Regions from separate parts of the Homo sapiens genome. Here all the other regions are linked to region 2. Evidence: promoter capture Hi-C in human tissues and cell types (Jung and others, 2019). All regions are on one chromosome and are shown on one strand. The core of a region is centred on a gene start or on the middle of the fragment in contact, and the rest is flanking DNA. Distances in the headings are between cores, read along the strand shown. Region 1 holds the start of EXOSC5 (exosome component 5). Region 2 overlaps DMRTC2 (DMRT like family C2). Region 3 holds the start of PRR19 (proline rich 19).

Evidence for each region. The method cuts DNA at HindIII sites, captures the fragments that hold promoters and counts their contacts. A contact is called where the count stands out against the background at its distance.
Region 1: a contact is called between the fragment with the promoter of EXOSC5 here and a fragment that was not itself captured in region 2, in 4 of the 25 tissues and cell types used here (adrenal gland, bladder, dorsolateral prefrontal cortex and 1 more).
Region 3: a contact is called between the fragment with the promoter of PRR19 here and a fragment that was not itself captured in region 2, in 1 of the 25 tissues and cell types used here (heart right ventricle).

Annotation. Positions count from the first base shown.
Region 1 is chr19:41,395,997-41,400,016 of GRCh38, reverse strand. It overlaps EXOSC5 (exosome component 5), which reads left to right and starts at 2,658. Exons shown (of 6, transcript NM_020158.4): 1 at 2,658-2,836. The coding sequence starts at 2,689. It overlaps BCKDHA (branched chain keto acid dehydrogenase E1 subunit alpha), which reads right to left and starts at 2,199. Exons shown (of 9, transcript NM_000709.4): 1 at 2,082-2,199. The coding sequence starts at 2,189. RefSeq lists enhancers at 1,344-2,015, 2,171-2,450, 2,016-2,688 and a silencer at 2,447-2,735. The HindIII fragment of the contact is 15,471 bases long and covers 1-4,020 here.
Region 2 is chr19:41,851,817-41,855,670 of GRCh38, reverse strand. It overlaps DMRTC2 (DMRT like family C2), which reads right to left. Exons shown (of 9, transcript NM_001040283.3): 9 at 3,338-3,854. Among named protein-coding and RNA genes, the nearest start is that of RPS19, 6.5 kb to the left of the region's middle. The HindIII fragment of the contact is 8,258 bases long and covers 1-3,854 here.
Region 3 is chr19:42,300,882-42,305,181 of GRCh38, reverse strand. PRR19 (proline rich 19) reads right to left here and starts at 3,050. Exons shown (of 3, transcript NM_199285.3): 1 at 2,679-3,050. It overlaps PAFAH1B3 (platelet activating factor acetylhydrolase 1b catalytic subunit 3), which reads left to right and starts at 2,558. Exons shown (of 5, transcript NM_002573.4): 1 at 2,558-2,950; 2 at 3,143-3,232. The coding sequence starts at 2,873. RefSeq lists a silencer at 2,444-2,663 and enhancers at 2,217-2,871, 2,824-2,953, 3,034-3,083. The HindIII fragment of the contact is 37,239 bases long and covers 1-4,300 here.

The sequences.
Region 1 (4,020 bases), core at 1,409-3,908, 460 kb after region 2:
GCCAGAAGTTCGAGACCAGCCTGGACAACATGGTGAAACCTCGTCCCTACCAAAAATACAAAAATTAGCCAGGCGTGATAGTGCATGCCTGTAATCCCAGCTACTAGGGAGGCTGAGGCAGGAGAATTGCTTGAACTCGGCAGGCAGAGATTGCAGTAAGTCAAGATCATGCTGCTGCACTCCAGCCTAGGCGAGAGAGTGAAACTCTGTCTCAAAAAAGAAAAAAAAAGAAAAAGGAAAGAGAGGTACAGAAAGAAAGAGAGAGAGAAAAGAGAAGAGAAAAGGAAAGGAAAGGAAAGGGAAAAAGAAAAGAAAAGAAAAAGGAGAGGGGAGGAGAGGAGAGGAGAAGGAGAGGAAAGAAAGAAGAAGAGAGAAAGAACAGGTGGGAGAAATAAAGGGGAAAAAACAATAACTCTTAAGATAATACAAATTTAAATATATATAAATAAAAAGTAGGGACTTCTTCCCTCCCCACTCCCCACCAAAAATGAAGTAGGGGAAGCAAGAGGAAAGGTAATCAAGAGATTGAGACAGGAGAGAAAGATTTAATCAGCCATAAATGACCTTTCCCTAGCCTGCCCCAGTCCTGCCCACCTCCTGCCCCACTTGCCCAGCCAATGGGCCCCTGGGACTGAGATCAGCTGTGGAGGATATGAACTGCTCAAAAAAAAAAAAAAAAAAAAAAGTGAAAAGGTCTCCAGCCCAAAGGCAAGAGACTGCCCTACCCACACCTTGCTCCTGCAGCCCTTCTGTATTTACCTGTTTCAAGTGACTCCGTTCCTAGATACCTACTACGTCCTACTCCTGGCCCATCTTCTTCACCCTCCTCCCGTTTGTTCCCCTACCCAGAGCTTCTTTCTACAGATTCCATCTTCCCCTCCTTATGGATTGGGGATCAGAGGATCAGACTCAACCTCACAATATCTTTTCAGATTTTTTTCCCCAGGGCCTCACCAATCCAGGCCTTCCCAAGGTCACCCCTTTCTTCTCCCCATCTCCAAGGTTAGTTTCTGTCCCTTCCCTCCACCCTCACTATCAACATTCCTATTGCCCTTAGGATGTGCCAGGTCCAGTCCTTAGCATTTTACATATTGATTTTTCACAGCCCTATGAGGTGGCCACTGTTAATATTTTAGAGAGGAAAATTAGCTCCATAGATCCAGAGAAGTGCAGTCCGTTGGCCAAGGCTACACAAGTGGAAAGCGGCAGAGCAAGGACATGCATCCACCCATGTAACCACTACTCTCCTATCTGTCAACTGTAGTTCAAAGCTCTTCTGCAACCCATTGCCTCTCCCCGTCTAAAGATAGGCTTCCACCTAGGTTTTTTGCAGTGTAATCTTGCCCTTAGCAGCATCCACCTGAAGGGATTGTGACCCTTTTGACAAGAAACAAAGCCTTCTCAAGTGTTTCTAAGAAATGTGGGCAAAGTGCCCTGTCTGTACCTCTCTCCCTCCTTTTTTCCCCTCATTAATTCAACAAATATTAATCGTCTCCTCTGTACAGTGTCCAGAACACACGAATTCTCTGTCTTGATATTCGATCAAGAGACACAGGAATCAAACAAATTTTTTACACAATTCATTTTAAAATCAGAATTGTGGCAAAGGAGCAAAGAAATACAAGGCCCTATGCAGCCTGTGACAGGGACCTGTTCTCTTCTTTCTTCTTCTTGAAGAGGGATCTTTGCCCAGAAGAAAGTCCCTCCCTTACAAAGTCAGTTTCATTCTCCAAACCCTGAGGGAGAAGGTCTTGCGGTCTTCCCCTGTTCCTCCAAGGAGCCTCCCCTGAATACCAGTGGCAGCTAATAAGGAACCCCCATCTCTCTCTTCAAGTCGTCTCCCTCAGGGCCCACAAAGAAGTTGCAAACGGGTTTTTTCCTCTCCTAAAGAAGTGGAAGTTCTTTTCGTCTCCTAAGGAAGTGGCAGATCTTCCCTTCGGTGTCTTCTCCAAGGAGTCTCCCACTCTTTTTCCCTTTTGTGACAGCCCTTCCTTCATATCCTTCAGGGACCCCACACTCTGAAGATAGCCTTTACATCCCTAATCCCCTTTGGGAAAACCGCCTGGGGCCCAGGTACTCACAGATCTAGCCAGTCCCCGAGCCCCAGGCTGCCGCAGCAGCAGGAGGGCAGCCTGGCTCAAACCACGGTTTAGCCGCCAGACCCTCGCTGCAGCGATCGCTACCGCCATCTTGGCTAACAACCACTCAGCGGTCCGGCACTCACGTAGGCTAGATTCGGGGCTGCCTCTTTATGTGCCTGACGCAAACTCCAGCACCATCTGACAAGAAAACCATCTTCTTCCCGTTCTGTGGTAGATAGAATGCACAGAGATTTGGAGAAAAAAAAATCTATCTACCCAAAATTTTCTCCAATCGCCTCATTGTAGTTACTCCTGTAACAGGCAAAGAAGAGGGCAACCTGACCAGGGCCTCAGGGATTTAGGGCCCGGGGGCCCAGAGTAAAGCGGATCAATGCCAAGGCCTGCCTTCTGTTCCCAAATGTCCAATGGCGTTGCCAGAGTTAGGAGGTGGGACTGGGCGGAGCCAGATTGTTGGTAAACGCTAAGCCACGTGCGGACGCCCAGGAGGATGGCCCAGCCCGGCGCGTGCGCACTGGTTACGCAGCCTGTTTGCGGCGCGCGCTGCCAGGCGGAAGTGACAACTGCAGCCGCACGTGGGCTCGGCGCGATGGAGGAGGAGACGCATACTGACGCCAAAATCCGTGCTGAAAATGGAACAGGGTCCAGCCCTCGGGGTCCTGGCTGCAGCCTCCGGCACTTTGCCTGCGAACAGAACCTGCTGTCGCGGCCAGATGGCTCTGCTTCCTTCCTGCAAGGTAAGAACTTCACCCAGGTCTTTCTTTTGGAGAGGGACTACCGTGTACTGTGCAACCGAGTGCCCACCTCCTCACGATACCAGCTGGTAAATGTCACTCCTGCGTTGATGCATGATTTCTTGTCCGATTGAATACTACTAAATACGCAGGGATACACACATCTCTCCCTCACGACTAGAAAGGAGAAGATAGTTCCATCTTTGTAACTATCTCTGAGAATGAGAGGAGGGGCAGACTGTCCGCCCAAGAATTGATATTTCAGAATAGGGAAAATCACCTCGCCAGGGTAAATATCCCCCTTAACTCGATTCCTCCTCCACCCTCCCACCCCCACCCCCCACACACACACCCTCTAGGTCCTTGCATCCCGGACTGAAGCAAACCTGTCTATTTGCATACTGTGGACTGTGGCGGATCTTTCACCCACGTAAATACTCCTCAAATTGAAGATAATGTCATTGCGCTGGGTTGAGAAATACATCCCCACCGCTACCTCACTGCATCTCTCCACACAAGTAAATATCCCTAAGATTAGGGCAAGTCAAAAAAAAAAAAAAAAAAAAGATTAGGGCAAGTCTTACCTATAGAGCAAATATCCCCTTTTCCTAGCTAAATAACTCTCAGAAGTAGATTAACTCCAAGAATATTTCTCTTTAACGTTTGAGACGGGAGGCCGGGGGCGGTGGCTCACGCCTGTAATCCCCACACTTTGGGAGGCCAAGACCTGTGGCTCACCTGAGGTCAGGAGTTCGAGACCAGCCTGGCCAACATGGCGAAACCCTGTCTCTACTAAAAATACAAAAACTAGCCAGGCATGGTGGCGGGCGCCTGTAATCCCAGCTACTCGGGAGGCTGAGGCAGGACAATCACTTGAACCTGGGAGGCAGAAGTTGCAGTGGGCCGAGATCGTGCCATTGTACTCCAGCGTGAGCGACAAAGCAAGACTCTGTCTCAAAAAAAAAAAAAATTGAGACAGCGTCTCACGATGTCACCCAGGTTGGTCTTGAACTCCTGGGCTCAAGCAATCCTCCTCCCAAAGTGCTCATACAGGTATGAGCCACCACGCCCAGCCCCAATACATTTTAACAAAATTTGGCTGCTGTGTTGATTGTGGGGAGTATGGGGGAAAACAGGGAGGTGATGGTGGCTCCAGCCAGAGCAGGAGTAGTGGAGGTGATGAGATT
Region 2 (3,854 bases), core at 454-2,953:
TAGCTGGGACTACAGGTGCACGCCACCATGCCTGGCTAAATTTTGTATTTTTTGCAGAAAGGGGGTTTTGCCATGTTGCCCAGGCTGGTCCCGAACTCCTGAGCTCAAGCAATCCTCCCACCTTGGCCTCCCAAAGTTCCGAGATCAGAGGTGTGAGCCACTGTATCTGGCCCCTGAAGGTTTTTTTGCTGGGTACGGTGGCTCACAACTCTAATCCCAAAATAATAAGAAACAAAAATACACACATACAAACAAAACAACTCTAATCCCAGCACTTTGGGAGGCTGAGACAGGAGGATCGGTTGAGCTCAGACATTCAAGACCAGCCTGGGCAACATAGTGAGACACTGTCTCTACAAAAAATAAAAATTAGTCTCACATGGAGGTGTATGCCTGTAGTCCCAGCTACTCAGGAGGCTGAGGCTGGAGGGTCACTTGAGCCTGGGAGGTTGAGGCTGCCGTGAGCCATGACTGTGCCACTGTACTCCAGCTTGGGTGACAGAGGCTGTCTTAGAAAAAATGGTTTGAGGTCAGAAAGTTCACATTTTGATGAGGAGAGGGGCAGCATTGGAGTGTGTTAACTCAGTAGGAAAAAACAATTCCTAAGGAATCAGACAGAACGTATTTTACTCAGTCATTTATTCTGAGCTCCCAAGGAGGAGCTGCAGGCAAGTCCTGTGCTCTGAGAGTGCTTATTCTCTGAGGGGGAGACATAGATGGACATAGATAGGCACAGCTCAGGGTGATCAGGACTATGAAGTAGAGACCAGTGGCCCCTTGGGAACATAGGGAACTCTGCCTGAGAGGCTTAACATATTATTTTGAGTTGGATGAAAAGGATGAACTTTGGTTTTGTGAAGAGTTCAGGATCTTGTGAAGGCCCATGCAGGGTAGGGGTTATAGGACTGTATTTATGCAAACGTGTCAGGGCTGCAAAGCCAGCTACACAATGGAACAGGGGTGCAGAATGAGGCCTATGTGGACGAAGCAATGAGGGTCTGCGTATAGGCTGGATGGGATAAGTGTATGATGTCAGTTCTACGTTGGACGAGAATTGAGGTCAGGAGTGGAGCAAGTTAATGTAGGGCTGAAGCGAAAGGAGCATGGATTCCCAAAGGGCAGAATGTGAAATAAGCTCCTGAAATAAAACCTGGGTGACTGTGGGGAGGAGTCTTGTGAGGAGAGAGAGGAACAGGGACGGTGCTTCATAGTTGGGACCTCATTGGTTAAGTCTGCAGAGTGCCAAGAGGGTACACAAAGAAGGTTTAGAAGGGAGATGATTTACTCAGTACTTTATTGGACCATGGCAATACCTTTCCCTACCTGGCACTGGGAAGTGGGAAAGGGGGCAGTATAGGAAACAGTGCTCACAGTCTATTATCTGTAATCTCTCAGAGCCAAGAAGAGGCCAGGAGCCTACTGGCTCCCTACAACCACAGGTGAAGAGTGCTGCACCTGAACAGGCAACAACTTAGGAGCATGAGCAACTCTTAAATCTGCTCTTTTCCCTAAGACTGACATCTGCAGAAGCTCTGGCCCTTTCCCTCAGGCACTAATGGGGGGCCCTAACGATTTGAAAGACAAAGTTGGCCTGGCCAACTGGTGTGAAAAGCCTTGCCCAGGCTGGGTACTGAAGGCCGGGTACTGGAGGAGAGGTGAAGGAGAGGTGGCCTCTAGTCTACTCCTTCCCCCAATCTCCATCACTTCCTCTTTTCCTCCCCTTTTCATGCCATCCTTTAACCCCAAATTATACTTTCTCTTTTACCCTTCTCAGCTCTGTGACCTTGGTGTACAGAGGACCCTTGGTCAGTGCTGAGTAGCAGAATCTCAGCCATGTTGCATGTTGCAGTGCTTCCTTTCTCTGTGACTTTGTGGCCCTGGTCATCTGTCACTAGGAAAGCATGGCACACCAAGTCTTAGGCAGGTCTATTAAGGAGCAATCATATATCTAAGTTATAGCTAAGGGGAGGGAAGAAGGGTGTGAAGCCGACTTTGGTCTCCTGATATCTCAGTATCTCCTGAGAAGTGCTGCAGGTTTGTTACTCTGTACTCTGCTAGGGAGGAGAAGAAACCCACCCTCTCAAAATCCCAAATAAGAAATAACAAGTTGTAATTGGATGTCATCACCATCAATCATCTTGAGTAAAACAAGGGGTGTAGGTAACATCAGGAAAAAGAATCAGTGATCAAGCACATCCCTTGAGCCCCTTCTAAGGGTGGGAATGGGAAGGGGGTCTCCAGGCTTCATGTCTTTGGAATAGCTCAACAGGTTTTCCTATGTACGGAATGGTTCAAGGAGAAGGACTTGACACCAGAGGACTGAGAAACAAATGCAGGTAAGATCTTATTCTTAATGATATCTTGAGGAGAAAAATAAAAGACTTTTTTGAAAAACTCTTGACTTGTATGTATCTTCTGGAGTCCTGATTGGGGAAAGGAGTGGTGCATCTTTCATTCTATGCTTTTATTTATTTGTTTTTATAGAGACAGGGTCTCCCCGTGTTACTCAGGCTGGTCTCAAACTCCTGGGCTCAAGCGATCCTCCTGCCTTGGCCTCCCAAAGTGCTGGGATTACAGGTGTGAGCTATCACACCCGGCCCAATGCTTTATAAACATTATTAACTAATTTGGAGCCTGGCAAAGAGAAGGAACCCTCCTCTGATCTCTGCCTAGAAATTTCCCCTAAAACACTTGGGCAAGTTACTTTACCTCTTTAAGCTTGTTTCTTCACTTGTAAAATGGGAACCATCCTGCATAACTTCCAGGGTTGCTGTGAAGATATGTGAATCAAATGGAGTGGGCACTCAATAAATGGTAATAAATGTTTCTTAACCTTTTATGGATCCTTCGAAACTCAGACACGTGAACCTCCCTAGTTGAGGAAAAACTTGTGATAAAGACTAACTCGATTCTTTCTATTCTGGTTAGCCTCAATTTCCCCATCTGGAAAATGTATCAAATTGGTATTCCACTGGCCAAAGCTAGCCTGAAAATATGTTTTATTTGGCACGTATAGAATTTAAAGAAGAAAACTGAGCCAACATTTGAAAATTAAGATGTTTTACATGGAAATCTAGTTTTCCAGTTTCTCTTAAAAAATCAGAAGATGGAGCAACACTGAGTCCACATTCCCGCCTGGCAGTAATCTGCTAGGGCCAAAAGGAGGCTGCTCCTTAGGCAAGGCATCCATTCTCAGTTTGCCAGGGTCCATCTGGCCTTCTTTACTCATTTATTTGATCTGCTCAGCCCTGTAGGCATTTCGATTTGTAGCCCCTCTAGACAGCTGGAAACTGTCTATGCCTGGCACAGAGCGGGCAATTAATCAGTGAATCCCCCATTATTTCTTTACATCATTTTTTTTTATTTGGACAAAGAAAAAAATCCAAGTTTGTTTTCATCTATGGTAGCTATTGGATAACAGATTTTTCACTTTGAGAAGCGAAATGAACAAGTCCTTTCTGTCAGTCAGGATAGACTAGGTTAGGCTGTGGTAACACTCTCCAAATCTCAGTGGCTTACAACAACAAAGGTTTATTTCTTGCTTACTCACACAAACCTAGACACAAAATGAAAACACTCTCCTGTTTTCACATGCATGGAGACAGACATGAATGCATAGGCATTTACAGAATCATGGAATCCTGGGATGTAAACTCATGCAAACACGTTTATAGATACTGGTCAGCTTAAATAGCACAACTCTCTCTTTATTGGGGATTTCAAGAGATCCCAGGACCCAAGAAGGGTACAAGAATATCCACTGTCAGCCAAGGAAATGCCCACACTACCAAAGGAACTGAAAGCTAATGAAGCACCTGAAAGCTTAAACAAACAAACAAACAAACAAACAAAAA
Region 3 (4,300 bases), core at 1,801-4,300, 450 kb before region 2:
GCTGGAGTGCAGTGGCACAGTCTGAACTCACTGCAACCTCCACCTCCCGGGTTCAAGCGATTCTCCTGCCTCAGCCTCCCAGGTAGCTGGGACTACAGGCGCAGACCACCTTGCCCAGCTAATCTTTGTATTTTTTAATAGAGATGGGGTTTTGCTATGTTGGTCAGACTGGTCTTGAACTCCTGACGCCAAGTGATCTGCCCACCTCAGCCTCCCAAAGTGCTGGGATTATAGGAGTGAGCCACCGTGCCTAGCTGATTATGACTTCTTTTTTGGAGACAGGGACTCACTCTGTCACCCAACCTGGAGTGCAGTGACACCATCATGGGCCACTGCCACCTCATCTCCCAGGCTCAAGCTATCCTCCTGCCTCAGCCTCCCAACTAACTGGGACTACAGGCACTTGCCCTTTTTTTTTTTTTTTTTTTTTTTGAGACGGCGTCTCGCTCTGTCTCCCAGGCTGAAGTGCACTGGTGCCATCTCGGCTCACTGCAAGCTCTGCCTCCCAGGTTCACGCTATTCTCCTGCCTCAGCCTCCCAAGTAGCTGGGACAACAGGCGCCTGCCACCACGCCCCGCTAATTTTTTGTATTTTTAGTAGAGACGGGGTTTCACCGTGTTAGCCAGGATGGTCTCGATCCTGACCTCGTGATCTGCCCACCTCGGCCTCCCAAAGTGCTGGGATTACAGGCGTGAGCCACCGCGCCCAGCCTTTTTTTTTTTTTTTTTTTAGACAGGGTCTCACTGTGTTACCCAGGCTGGTCTCAAACTTCTGGGTTCAAGCGATCCTCGCACCTCAGCCTCCCCAGTAGCTGGGACTACAGGCATGCATCACTGCACCTGGCTCCCTCAGACTTTATTTGTTTGTTTATTTTTGTAATTAAGACAGAGTCTCGCTGTGTCACCCAAGCTGGGCCACTGTTGCCCAGGCTGGGCTGCAGTGGCGCGATCTCAGCTCACTGCAACCTCTGCCTCCCAGACTCAAGCAATTGTCCTGCCTCAGCCTTCCCAAGTAGCTGGGACTACGGGCGTGTGCTGCCATGCCTAGCTAATTTTTTTTTTTTTTTTGTATATTTAGTAGACACGTGGTTTCGCCATGTTGGCCAGGCTGGTTGACCTCAAGTGATCCGACCATGTCAGCCTCCCAAAGTGCTGGGATTACAGGCATGAGCCTCCATGCTGGCCTCCCTCAGACTTTAAAATCAAGCTATTCCACGATATTCCCCAAACCTAATAAGAAAGTGATTACCTGTGTCTTTTCTTTCTGCTTGCCCATTCTTCATTATCTTTCAGACCCAGCTGAGATACTACTCCTAGGAAACCCATAGTCCTCAGAGTCCTTCTCCTCTTCCTCCCCAGAGGTCCCTGTCTCTCCCTCAAACACAACTTTGACACCCCTACACCTCTGTGTCTGGATCTGTCTCCCTAAACACATTGGGACAAGGTCAGGAGCTGACCCACTCATTTACTACTCATTCAGCAAGCACTTGTGGAATAACCACTGTGTGCCCGGCCCAGTTCCAGGAAAGTGGATTGAAAACATAAACACAATGAATAACACTCATCTCTGTCTCAGTATCAATCCACCTCGAAGGAATGAATACATGGGAAGGTCCCACCTGGAGTGAGGCTACAAGAACATGACCAGGACGTTTAGCAGGGAGTGAGCCCCCCACCTGGTCCCAGAGAAGAGGGAGATCTGAGAAGACACTGAGGTCTGAGATTAATTTGGGGCAGCGTTGGGGGAGAGGCGCGACCCTAGGTGGCCTTGGCTATGGATGTAGGTTTCAGAGCTCAGACATACCCAGTTGGCCTGTGGGTTTAGAGAGAGTGTAGAGGCTGCAGATCTGCAAGATGATCTGCCGGAGGGACGCCAGACTGGACCTGAGCCCTGGAGGCGTCTCTAATTTCCTTTCTCTTTCTGCACCTTCTTCTACCCTCCAAGCAGGTCCTATGGTGTCTTGAATGCAAAGATATGTAGTTTATATGTTATGCCACGCGCGCGCACACACACACGGTGTTTTGAGTAGGGGTCCTGTGATGTCTTGAATGCAAAGATATGTACTTTAGATTTCAACACACACACACACACACACACACACACACACACACACACACCCACGGTGTTTTGAGTAGGGGAAGCCCACGAGTAGATAGGCTCACTAAAGCCCTGGCGCGGCCTTAGAGTGGCTCCTTAGAAGGGAGCCTCGAATTTTCACATTTTGTCATCTTCCTTTTCTGTCCCCCACATCAGTAGAAAATAGGAGCGTCCCCCCCAGCCAGGTGCATTCGAGCCACCCCTTCAAGGGAATATAAGAATGGACTCGTCCACTCGCTCCCCTCCCCCCACCACGTGAATGGGTCACCCCCCCCCCCGCAACAGTAGGTGGTCCCTTCCGCACATTTCACTCTGTACAGCAAATGGTTTCTTCCCATTTGCTAGACAGAGGGCTAGATTTTCCCCGCCCACTCTCGACTCTTCAGGTAGTTCGCCCCTCCCCGTGACCGGTGGGTGGTTTCTCCCTCCTCCCCGCCTCGGGAGCTGGATGGTCTCGCCTCTCCCTCCCCCCACCCCGTGCCGGGTGCGCGGCCTGGGAGTCAGCGGCCCGAGCGGGAAGCGCCGGGCGAGCCCACTGTGCGGCCGTCGTGGGGGAAGCGAAGGTTCCTGATTCCACCTACCTCCTAAGTGAAGGCTTCCGTCCCTGGAGAGGAGGCGGCGCCCTGTATCGGCCTTCGTCCTCCGCGGGTGTGCTAGCGTTGGGACGGTCCTTTGTTGCCGCGAGGGGTAGGAGTGGGCGTGGCGGAGCCAGCTCCGTTCGGAACACTCCCGGGCCGACCCGACTCGCTCATCCTGCAGGAGCTGCGGCGCCAAGATGAGTGGAGAGGAGAACCCAGCCAGCAAGCCCACGCCGGTGCAGGACGTACAGGGCGACGGGCGCTGGATGTCCCTGGTGAGCGTTCCCACCTGGGATATTGAGGAGTCCGGGGGCGCGGGGGGTGGCTCAGGAGAACGGCTGGTTCGTGCCACTCTCACTACCTGATTGGGAAACTGAGGGCAGTTGAGGAGGCGCTGCCTAAGGGAGCAGGGCGGGGCGGGCCCTGGAGCGTGCATGCCATTGACTCCCTCTCGCGCGCTCCCGCAGCACCATCGGTTCGTGGCTGACAGCAAAGATAAGGAACCCGAAGTCGTCTTCATCGGGGACTCCTTGGTCCAGCTCATGCACCAGTGCGAGGTGAGGGCAGTCCCTCTCCCCCTGCCCCATCCAGCCCTGTGTCCATGCTGACACATCTGGACCAGAACCCAGGCCAGGTGAGGTATTATGAGAGTACCCAGATTGGCCTCAGGCAGCCCGAGGCTCTGAGAATCTTGGTGTAAGGTGCAACATTCTATTGAGAAAGAAATGTATGCCTTGGTTTTATCAGATTGGATTTGTGTATAATGTACTAAGACCTAAAATGAGGCTTTCCTGCCATAGGCTTGCCTAAAGTGAGGCTCTTTCTTGTTTGCTTTAAGTAGTGCGCAGCCCTGTTGGGTTTACACAAAGCTATAGTCACTTTACAGGAAGCGAAGGGCAACTCTAATGGCACTCCACAAAGAGGACTCAATCATAATAATATCTTTCCACAAAGCATGTCCAACTGTAATGGGTTTCATCAAAATAAGTTTCAACTGTAATGCCATTGATTCAATGCATGGCTCAAGCAGACTGGATTTTCATGAAGTGAGTCTTGCTTCTATGGGGCTTGGTTTGTTTTGTTGGTTGGTTGGTTGGTTGGTTGGTTTTTGAGACAGGGTCTTGCTCTGTCACCCAGGCTGGCGTGCAGTGGTATGATCTCTGTTCACTGCAACCTCTGCCTCCTGGGCTCAAGTGATCCTCCCACCTTAGTCTCCGAGTAGCTGGGACTACAGGTGCACATCACCATGCACCTGGCTAATTTTTGTAATTTTTGTAGAGATGGGGTTTTGCCCTGTTGCGCAGGTTGGTCTTGAACTCCTGGGCTCAAGCAGTCCGCCCACCTCAGCATGAGCAACAGAGCCTGGGGCTTGGTTTAAAGTGAGAGACTCTAGGCAGGGTGTGGTGGCTTACGCCTGTAATCCCAGCACTTTGGGAGGCCAAGGCAGGCGGATGACCTGAGGCCAGGAGTTCGAGACCACCCTGGCCAACATGGCGAAATCCTGTCTCTACTAAAAATACAAAAATTAGCTGGGCATGGTGGCACATGCCTATAGTCCCAGCTACTTGGCAGGCTGAGGCAGGAGAATCGCCAGAACCTGGGAAGCAGAGATTGCAATGAGCCGA